3 separate regions of the Homo sapiens genome follow, and regions 1 and 2 are each linked to region 3. The links are contacts of gene promoters, found by promoter capture Hi-C in blood cells and fetal thymus (Javierre and others, 2016). All regions are on one chromosome and are shown on one strand. The core of a region is centred on a gene start or on the middle of the fragment in contact, and the rest is flanking DNA. Distances in the headings are between cores, read along the strand shown.

Region 1 (3,504 bases), core at 239-2,738, about 19 Mb after region 3:
GTATTTATAAAAACCAAAAAAGACAGGAACTAGGTGCATGTGCTAAAGTAGAAAAGAACACTTAAGGCCAGGAGCAGTTGCTCATGCCTGTAATCCCAGCACTTTGGGAGGCTGAGGTGGGCAGACTGCCTGAGGTCAGGAGTTCGAGACCAGCCTGACCAATATGGTGAAACCCTGTCTCTACTAAAAATACAAAAACTAGCAGGGCGTGGTGGTGGGTACCTATAATCCCAGCTACTTGGGAGGCTGAGACAGGAGAATCTGGGAGGCGGAGATTGCAGTGAGCAGAGACCGGGCCATTGCACTCTAGCCTGGGGAACAAGAGTGAAACTCCACCTCAAAAAAACAAAAAATAAAAGGACCCTTAAACTAGATAACAGTGGGGGTCAAGCAGTAACCCAAGGCTCTGAGTTCAGTAAGTAAATAAATCTAATATGAATGCCCTCTCCTCTCACTCATCTATTAACTTGTAGAACATTTCCTTCATTACTGCATCAGCGATGAGCTTTATGCTGTGAAATTCTCAAAATCTAAAGCTTATGAAGTGGTCTCAAGGTCCAAAGCACACTAAAAACTCATTACTTACAAAATGATACCAAGTAACTGTTTCATCATCTTTACCGTACCTTTACCATATTTGAGTGGCTATGTGAAATGGTCACAGGTTAGAAACACATCATAGTCCAAAAGTTGAAGAATATTCCACAGGTAATCATTTCAGTCACAGGAAGTGGAACCAGGATTGAAGAGGGTGTTGAATAAGCTACAAAAGTGGGTATAGTATACCTGGAGTCATTACTAAGCAGAGTTCTCAGATTTGATCAAGGTTAATTCAATGAGAAATGGAATATATATAGACAATAGGCAACAAGATTAGCAGGAAGCAGTCAGATCAAGTAGCCAATCAGGAATTGAAATCGGTCCTTGAAAATGGAAAGGTGATTGAATTGAGGCATACAATGAGATATCCTTCTGTGGCTCTGGGAAAGTAAAATTGGTTGGCATATTAACATGGAATAGGATTTCTACAAGGCCGCTTAAAGAATGTTTCCATCCTCTGAGAACTGAAGGGAGTTCCAAATAGGCAGTTTGTGACTGATGATGAGCATGTTGATGATAAAGTCTCCTTTATATAACAGCCGGCAGACGACTTGGTCACACCCACACATCTTAAATTCACATAAAGGTAAATATATGGTCAGGCGTGGTGGCCCACACCTGTAGTCTCAGCACCTTTGGGGAGGCGAAGGCGGGGGTGGATCATTTGAGGTCAGGAGTTCAAGACCAGTCTGGCCAACATGGTGAAACTCCATCTCTACTAAAATACAAAAATTAGCCAGGCATGGTGGTGCATGCCTGTGGTCCCAGCTACTCAGGAGGCCGAGGCAGGAGAATCACGTGAACCCGGGAGGCGGAGGTTGCAGTGAGCCAAGATCGCACCACTGCCCTCCAGCCTAGGCAACAGAGACTCCGTCTCAAAAACAAGTCAATATAGCTGGGCATGGTGGCTTGTACCTAGCTACTTAAGAGGCTGAGGCAGGAGGATTGCTTGAGGTCAGGATTTAGAGACCAGCCTGGGCAACACAGGGATACTCTGCCTCTCTAAAAATATTTTAAGAAGTACCACCACCATGCCCAGCTAATTTTTTTTGTATTTTTAATAGAGACGGGGTCTCACCATGTTAGCCAGGCTGGTCTCAAACTCCTCACCTCAGGTGATCCACCCGCTTCAGCCTCCCAAAGTGCTGGGATTACAGGCATGAGCCACAGTGCCCAGCCCAGAACTTGCATTTCTAACAATTCCCAGGTTGTGCTGTTTGGGGAACCATACTTTGAGAAACACTTCCCTATAATCTGATAGGTTATTTCCCCTAAGATCCAGATGAGTAAAAATTAATACACATTAGATGAAATTCCAGAAGTTATCTTCGAACTTTGCTACTCATTGAATGTCATGAAGATATTGGAAAAAAAAGAAAAAAAACAAAAAACAACCTTGCTACTCAACGAGGGATTTGCTATTATCACATTTCAGAGAAATTCAGAACCTCAGGCCTAAACCCAGGCCTACTAAATCAGGATCTGCAGTTTCTCACAATCTTCAGGTGATTTCTATGGTCATTAAAGTTTGAAAAGCTGCCTTGAAACAGTCCTTCCTAAAACTGAAGTGGAGGTGCCACAAAAATCATCTGGTAAATTGTTTAAAGTAATCCCAAATGCAACTCAAATCTACAGAATCCCAGGTGAAGCTCAGTAATCTGTATTTTTATCCTTCTCCCCAAATAATTCTGATGTGCAGGCAAGTTTGAAAACCACTGCTTTAAAGAAAATGGATACTCCCCTTACCAAGCAGAAAGTAGGATTTTGGAAACTGATGCAAGGGAAGCAAAAAAGATGCCTCAGGAGGCACGATTACAACAGGATTGATGCAAACGGAAGCTGAAGCTTAACCAAAGACATTAATGTACGCCCACAAAAGAAACTGCTAAGGAAGTCAAGTGGTCTGCATGAATTCTGAAGAAAAATGGAGAACCAAAGAACAAAATTTGTCAATGAATTTCCAGCACAGTCTAGGTTAAGGGAGTGAATTTCTTGACTGAATGGCACAGACTCTGTACCACCTGATTGGCTGTTACCTTAATGGAGGAATTATATTACAATGTATAGGTACTTTAATTAGAATGACCTGGCAGTTACTGAGGCAAAATTTTCCGCTCCTTTGTATTCTGTAATACAAGAAGGATCTACATGGATGTTCTGTTCTCTGAACTGTCTGGATGAACCGGTCAACGGCACTCATCATACCTTAGTTTTTAAATCTGCATTGTGGTCATAATCTGTTATTTAATTAATTTCTCGTATTTTTAATAAAAACTTTGCCTATATATTTTAGACAGAAATTGCCTTACTTTGCTGAAATGCTGAGAAATCCTAGACAGTTTTCAAGGCTGGGCTCAAATGTCACCTCTACTACCCTTTGCTGTGCCTCCTGGCACTGTGCTTCTGACACTTTGTACGGTCCTCCATGACAGCGTGAGCACAATTATATTACAGGCAATTACTCATGCCCCCCTGGCTCATCTGTTGACTCCTTTAGAGCACAGATCATGTTTTATTTATTGTAGCAACTAAAACAATTATTTGTTCAACCAATGACACCCATAAACAAAACTACCTGCCGAGGGCAGAGATGCAGGGGTAAAGTCATGCCAAGATTGAACCCCAGAAACCACTGTAGATTTTTCAGAGTTGACTCCTACGTTTTCAGACTTCTAGACTTCAAAAAACAACTCTCTATAAAATGTATGTTTCTAGAAGGAAGAAGAGTAACATTGTCCCCCCTTTTTTTTTTTTTTTTTTTTTTTTTGAGCTGGAGTCTTGCTCTGTCGACCAGGCTGGAGTGCAGTGGTGCAATCTTGGCTCCCTGCAACCTCCACCTCCCAGGTTCAAGCCACTCGCCTGCCTCACTTCAAGTAGCTGGGATTACAGGAGCCCACCACCACA
Region 2 (3,116 bases), core at 320-2,819, about 19 Mb after region 3:
ACATTGCTTCTCTTTTGACTTTATAAGACTAGATAGTCTATAGACAGAGAAACAGTTTCATTAAACCAGGGCCATTCAGGTTTATTTGGTAAAATATTTGTGATATATTTAAAAGCTTCCTGAGGTACTCATGTAATGATTGTTACTAGTATAATTGGTGCATAGGGCTGGGTGACCCTGCAAAAAAAGAGGCACAGCAAACTTTATTTCAGGTACAGATGGACCTTACCTTTAGGCAAATCCTTGAAATTTTGGCGTGGGGAATCAGGTTTTTCTGTGGGTTTTTTGTTTGTTTTTGGCTTTTCATAGACAGCTATATGAAGTCTCTGCTTTAGAATCTATAAAACTATAGCTTCAGAGGCTGGGCGAAATGGCTCATGCCTATAATCCCAGCACTTTGGGAGGCTGAGGTGAAAGGATCACTTGAGGTCAGGAGATCGAGACCAGCCTGGCTAACAGGGCGAAACCCCGTCTGTACTAAAAATGCAAAAATTAGCCAGGCATGGTGGCAGGCACCTGTAATCCCAGCTGCTTGGGAGGCTGAGGGAGGAGAATCACTTGAACCCAGAAGGCGGAGGTTGCAGTGAGCCGAGATCATGCCACTGCACGACAGAGCGAGACTCCATGTCGAAACAAAAAACTGTAGCTTCAGAGATTCACTTAAATTATCATTTATAGGCCAAGAGAGTTGTGGCTCACAGCCTGTAATCCCAGCATTCTAAAAGGCTGAGGTGGGTGGATCACTTGAGGCCAGGATTTTGAGACCAGCCTGGGCAACATGGCAAAACCCTGTTTCTACAAAAAGGAATTTGCTGGGTGTTGTGATGCACACCTGTAGTCTCAGCTACTTGGCGAGGCTGAGGCCAGGGGACTGCTTGACCCCAGGAGGTCGACCCTGCAGTGAGCCATGATAGCACCACTGTACTCTAGCCGGGGCGATCAAGTGAGGCCCTATCTCCAAAAAAAAGTTTTGTTTTGTTTTGTTTTAACAGGGTCTCACTTTGTCATCTACATTGGAGCACAGTGGTGCCATCACAGCTCACTGAAGTCTTCACCTCTCAGGCTTAAGGGAGCCTCCAACCTCAGCCTTCCAAGTAGTTGGCACTACAGGCATGCGTCACCACACCTGGCTCATTTTTGTATTTTTTAGTAGAGATGGGGTTTCACCATGTGTCCAGGCTGGTCTTGAGCTCCTGGACGCAAGTGATCTTCCGCCCTCGGCCTCCCAAACTGCTGGGATTACAGGTGTGAGCCACTGTGCTGGACGAATTTTTTTAAAGAAGGAAAAATAAAATTAATTCGGCCCTTCATTAAAAAAATTAAAAACTCTTTAAAGGAAACGTGGGCTAAGTTATTTTTCTGAGAGACTATAAGATTTGGGAAGAAAAATAATCATGATGAAACGTTTTGGGAATATTTTTGGTATTTAAAATTATTGTAGAAATTTATAAATGTGTCAGATTTTGGCTGGGCACAGTGGCTCACACTTGTAATCCAAGCACTTTGGGAGGCCAAGGTGGGCAGACCACCTGAGGTCGGGAGTTCGAGACCAGCCTAGCCAACATGGTGAAACCCTATCTCTAAAAGAATTTTTAAAAAAATTTTAAGTCAGATTTTAAGAAATATTCTTATGGCTGGGTACAGGTGGCTCATAACTGTCATCCCAGCACTTTGGGAGGCAAAGGCAGGCGGATCACTTGAGCTCAGGAGGTAAGTTACCTGGGCAACACAGCAAGACTCCATCTCTACAAAAAAAAAAAGTAGCTGGGCATGGTGGTGAGCACCTGTAGCTACTTGAGGGGTTAAGTCAGGAGGATCACTTGAGCCTGGCAGGTCAAGGCTATAGCAAGCCGTGTTTATGTCACTGCAGTCCAGGCAGGGTGACAAAGTGAAACTCTTATCTCCAAATGAGAAAGAAATCCTCTTGGTCGTAGATATGATTTCTTTACACCAAGTTTGTTCGTGGATGCCAATCACAATGGGTTTGTCCCTAGGGTAATATAGTTTGCTTTGATCATTTCCAAGAGTAAGTTGTACTACAGGATAGCAGAAGAGATGCACTTAAAAAGTATGGCAAAATGCATATTGAGACAATAGTATGTTGGCCAGACACAGAGACTCACGCTTGTAATCCCAGCACTTTGGGAGGCTGAGGTGGGTCACCTGAGGTCAGGAGTTCAAGGCCAGCCTGGCAAACATGGTGAAACCCTGTCTCTAACAAAAATACAAAAAATTAGCTGAGCTTGGTGGCACGTGCCTGTGGTCCTAGTTACTTGGGAGGCTGAGGTGGGAGGATCACTTGAGCCTGGGAGGTGCAGGGTACACTGAGCCGAGATTGTGCCACTACACTCTAACCTGGGTGACAGAGTGAGACCCAGTCTTAAAAAAAAAAAGAAAAAACAAGATGCAGTAAAGAAGCCGACCAAAACCAAGATGGTGACGAAAGTGACCTCTGGTCGTCCTCACTGCTCGTTAAAACTTTTTTTTTAAAAATATGAAAAGAGGCTGGGCCCTGTGGCTCACACCTGTAATCTCAGGACTTTGGGAGGCAAAGGCAGGTGGATTGCCTGAAGTCAGGAGTTTGAGACCAGCCTGGCCAACGTGGCACAACCAAAAATGCAAAAATTAGCCAGATGTGGTGGCACACACCTGTAATCCCAGCTACTTGGGAAGCTGAGGCAAGAGAATTGCTTGAAGCCAGGAGACAGAGGTTGCAGTGAGCCGAGATCATGCCACTGTACTCCAGCCTGGGTGATAGAGCAAGGCTCTGTCAAAAAAAAAAAAAAAAAAAAAAAAAAAGCCTGGCCTGGTGGTGCACGTCTGTAGTCCCAGCTACTCGGGAGGCTGAGGTGGGAGGATCATGTGAGCCTGGGAGGTCCAGGCTGCAGGGGGCCGTGATCCTGCCCCTGCCCTGCAGCCTGGGTTATACAGCGAGACAAAAGAAAAAAGAAAAAAGTTAGTGGTAACAGGATAAACTACATAACCGTATATTATTCCTTCACATTCATGAAGCAGGTCAATTTGAAGCTTGAGGACGACTTCCATTCCTCTAGGTGAATCTACCAAGAAATGCCTTGGTAGAGCTAGGAGTGCCAATGGTATCAGCAAGGCCAGCC
Region 3 (3,243 bases), core at 733-3,232:
TTGTAAATAGTGGTCCTTTAACTGACCCAAAAAGCAGAGAAAACAGAAATTACAGACCATCCTGACAAATGGAAAACATATTCTAACGTACTAGTTTCCATACTTGAAAGGACTTTCAAAATGAAGTTCAGTAGCAATCTATAACTATATCATGATTATGCAAGGCAAAGATTATGTAATTTTATCGTTTATTTTAAAATGTTCTCCGACTCTAAAACTAAAACAAGTAAAACGTTTTGATCTCTCCAAAGCGAAAAGGAAAGGTTCCTCTGAGCTGCAATTTAAAAATATAAACACACACCCCAAAACAAACAAAAAAACACAATGATTGCTAGCCACGTGACAAAGGAGATGGCAACACCAGGATTGTGAATGGAGGGGAGGGAGGCGAGGCTGGAGGAAGAGAGATTTCTCGGAACTTTGGGGACCGCGGCAGTCGGTCTGCCGACCCTAGGAGCACTAAACTCCAGCCCCTACGAGTTGTGCTTCTAACACCCTCAAGTACAGTTTTATTAATAAGTCACAGAAAATGCTCCAGTGACCTCCAGGATAAAGGGGGGTGGGGGGGACCGAGGAAAAGGAAAGAGAGCAATTTAAAGTGGCGCCATCATGTCACCCCTTCTCCCCTAAAGCAATCAGTAAGCAATAGTTAAGTAGCACGTTTCTCTATAAATCCACATTGGGATTCCAACATTGGAAAACGAGGATTTTTAAGTAAGACACGGGAGTAGCGCTGTTTATCGTATGGAAAACAAACTATTTGCTAAGAATCAAAAGACCGTCAGCCGGAAAACAGGCCCCCAAAAAGGCAGTTAAGATTCCAACTCACTTAAAAGCAAATAAATCCCTCTTCCTCTTTAGTTTAAAAAAAAAAAAAGTCCGCCTGAGGGAGACTACATCTGAAAACGTAAGTGACCTGAATTTACAGGCAACAAAAATAATAAATGAAACAATCAGAGTTGTGATACAAACCGTGCAACGCGCCAAGATGTGTGTTTCGAGCAGAGAAAGGCCTTTTGCAGTCAAGAGAAGTTCAAGGCGAGAGCCAGAGTTTGTTTGGGGGGTTCTTTTACGGGAATAAATCATGTTCTTCAGGCCGCCTTTTTAAATAGAACGCCAAAGGAAAAGCTGGCGAACGAGGCGGCAGCTCCTGGGGAAGGGCCCCCGCACACCCCCGCCCTTGGGGCGACTCCCAGCCCGGACCCGCAGCAGGGAAGCCCGGAGAGGCCATTTAAAGTTCCGGGGGATTTTTCTACCCTGCCCTGCCTTTCTAGTTACAACTAACAAAGAGAGAGAGAAATGGGAGCCACAGGGAGAGCGAGGAGAAGGAGAAAGGGCAGCAGGAGGAGGAGGAGAGGAGCAGCAGCAGCACCTACCACGTGATGGAGGAGCGTAGCCCGGGCGGATTCAGCCCCACAAAATGGGCGCAGTTTGCAAACAGCCCCCCGGCCTGGGCGCCGAGGGCCAGCGGCGGGCGGGGGCGCGCGACGGCGGCTCCGGCCCGGGCCCGCCGCTCTCCTCCCCCCGACGCCCGGAGCCGCCCTGACTTTCCGGGCGGGGGGGCGAGGCAGAGGGGGAGGGGAAGGCGGCGGCGGGGAGCGGCTGCTTTTTCTTCTCTTTCGGGCCCTTTCCCGGCCTTGCTCCGCACCGACGGGGCCCGAGCACGGCTGGAGACCGCAGCCCGGCCGGGAGGGCGGGCGGGCGGGGGCAGAGAGTGAAACCGCCCCCCCGCCCCGCACAAACAAGCACCGCCGTCTGCAGCCCGAACCCGCACCCAGGCCGCCACCCCCGGCCGCCTCTTTCCAGCCGGGGAGCGCGCTTCAGCCGCCCCCCGCGCCGCCGCGGCGAGACGAGTCGGCTTCGCTACGGTGCTCGGTTCTCCCGCCGGCTCGGCGAGCGGTGGCGGCGGTGGCGGCGGCACTGGGAAAATGGCGGCCGAGCTCCTTTTCCCTCCCCCCCTTTAATCTGAAGCGGAGGGAGAATGGAGCGAGCGAGCAAGCGGGCGAGCGCCGGGGACACGGGGAGGAGGGACAGCAGCGCCTCCGCCGGCTGCGGCTGCGGCGGCGAAGGGCCGCTCCACCCCGGCGCGCCGCCAGGGGGCGCCCGCCGCGCCGCCCCCGCGGGCCGCCAGGAGGCGCGGCCGCCGCCGCCTCAGTCATGGCTCCTCGCCGTGGCCGATGTTTTTGTACCTCCATCTGCGGAGGCCGCGGCGCCCGGCCCCAGCTGCCCCGGACGTGCGGCGACGGCACGCAGCACTGCGGCAGGGGGAAGCCAGCCCTCGCTGCGGCCGAGGTGAGTCTAACCTGAGGCACTGACGCCGTCACATGCCCTCCGTGCTGGGGCCGGCGGTGCGGCTCGCCAGTTGAGGGGCAGGGCGGGCCGGCGCCGCGGAGCGAGAGGACGTGAGCGAGGAACTGTTTGCACTGTGTAGTAAAGAGGGTAAGGCCGTCGGCACCACACTATTCCAAGGCTAACCCTGCAGAAAGCTCCCTGACCAGTGAAGCGGCTTCCGCCGCCCGCCCTTTGTCCCTAGCAGCCAGCCTCCGTATACTGCAGCACGGCTGGGCACTAGCCCCAGCACCGCGCTCCGCAGCCACCAGAGTTGGGCGGGGTGGGGAGGGTGCACGTAGTCACTGCGCAGGCCCCAGCCAGGGCCCGCGCCGGGCCAGCCCGGGAAGGGACAGCCGGGAGCCAGAGGGGAAGTGATGGCCCCGCCGGCGCCGGGCCCGCTGGGAACTGTAGTTTTCGTGAAGAAACACGCGTCTTGTTTTGGGTGTCATGGCTTGGCAGATCCGCCAAAACAGGCAAATGGCATTACACAATGAGTATTTATGCTTCCTGCCGCCACCAAAAGGAAGTTCACTGCCATGCTAAAAGTTTAACAAAGAACTCCATAAAGAAACACAAGTCTCACAACAAAAAGCCAACTTCCCACCTCGTTACCAGAGTTGGTTTAAAGTGGTGGCACCTTATCATTTCTCATGACCAGTTTATCAGTACAGAACTTTATATTGTCCCCAAAATAGGACCTTTAAAATAATGGAACCTTTCCTAGACTTAAAGAATTCATAAACATAATGTAATACAAAGTGTCACACAAAGTGTAATTCTACCACCCTTTAAAGTTGCCAAAAGATGAGTGGAGTATCTTGAGATTTAAAAGACTAATCTAGGATTCATCAAAACTGGCTTAAATGACTGAAGAAAAAATCGTTCAAATCATTAAATCATCAAATTCGGCAG

What was found. Contacts are between HindIII fragments. The CHiCAGO score rates a contact against its expected background, and 5 or more counts as called.
Region 1: a fragment that was not itself captured here is called in contact with the fragment with the promoter of KANSL1 in region 3 in 1 of 17 cell types (M2 macrophages); the score reaches 9.1 in M2 macrophages.
Region 2: a fragment that was not itself captured here is called in contact with the fragment with the promoter of KANSL1 in region 3 in 17 of 17 cell types (M0 macrophages, monocytes, M2 macrophages and 14 more); the score reaches 77.6 in M0 macrophages.

The regions. Positions count from the first base shown.
Region 1 is chr17:64,907,296-64,910,799 of GRCh38, forward strand. The region is part of intron 2 of LRRC37A3 (leucine rich repeat containing 37 member A3); the gene reads right to left. It overlaps LOC105376844 (a long non-coding RNA gene), which reads left to right. Exons shown (of 4, transcript XR_934912.4): 4 at 2,300-2,470. Among named protein-coding and RNA genes, the nearest start is that of LRRC37A3, 10 kb to the right of the region's middle. The HindIII fragment of the contact is 1,909 bases long and covers 535-2,443 here.
Region 2 is chr17:64,923,488-64,926,603 of GRCh38, forward strand. No RefSeq gene overlaps it. Among named protein-coding and RNA genes, the nearest start is that of LRRC37A3, 5.6 kb to the left of the region's middle. The HindIII fragment of the contact is 2,912 bases long and covers 114-3,025 here.
Region 3 is chr17:46,191,447-46,194,689 of GRCh38, forward strand. KANSL1 (KAT8 regulatory NSL complex subunit 1) reads right to left here and starts at 1,983. Exons shown (of 15, transcript NM_015443.4): 1 at 1,377-1,983. KANSL1-AS1 (KANSL1 antisense RNA 1) reads left to right here and starts at 2,127. Exons shown (of 2, transcript NR_034172.1): 1 at 2,127-2,292. The HindIII fragment of the contact is 13,741 bases long and covers 1-3,243 here.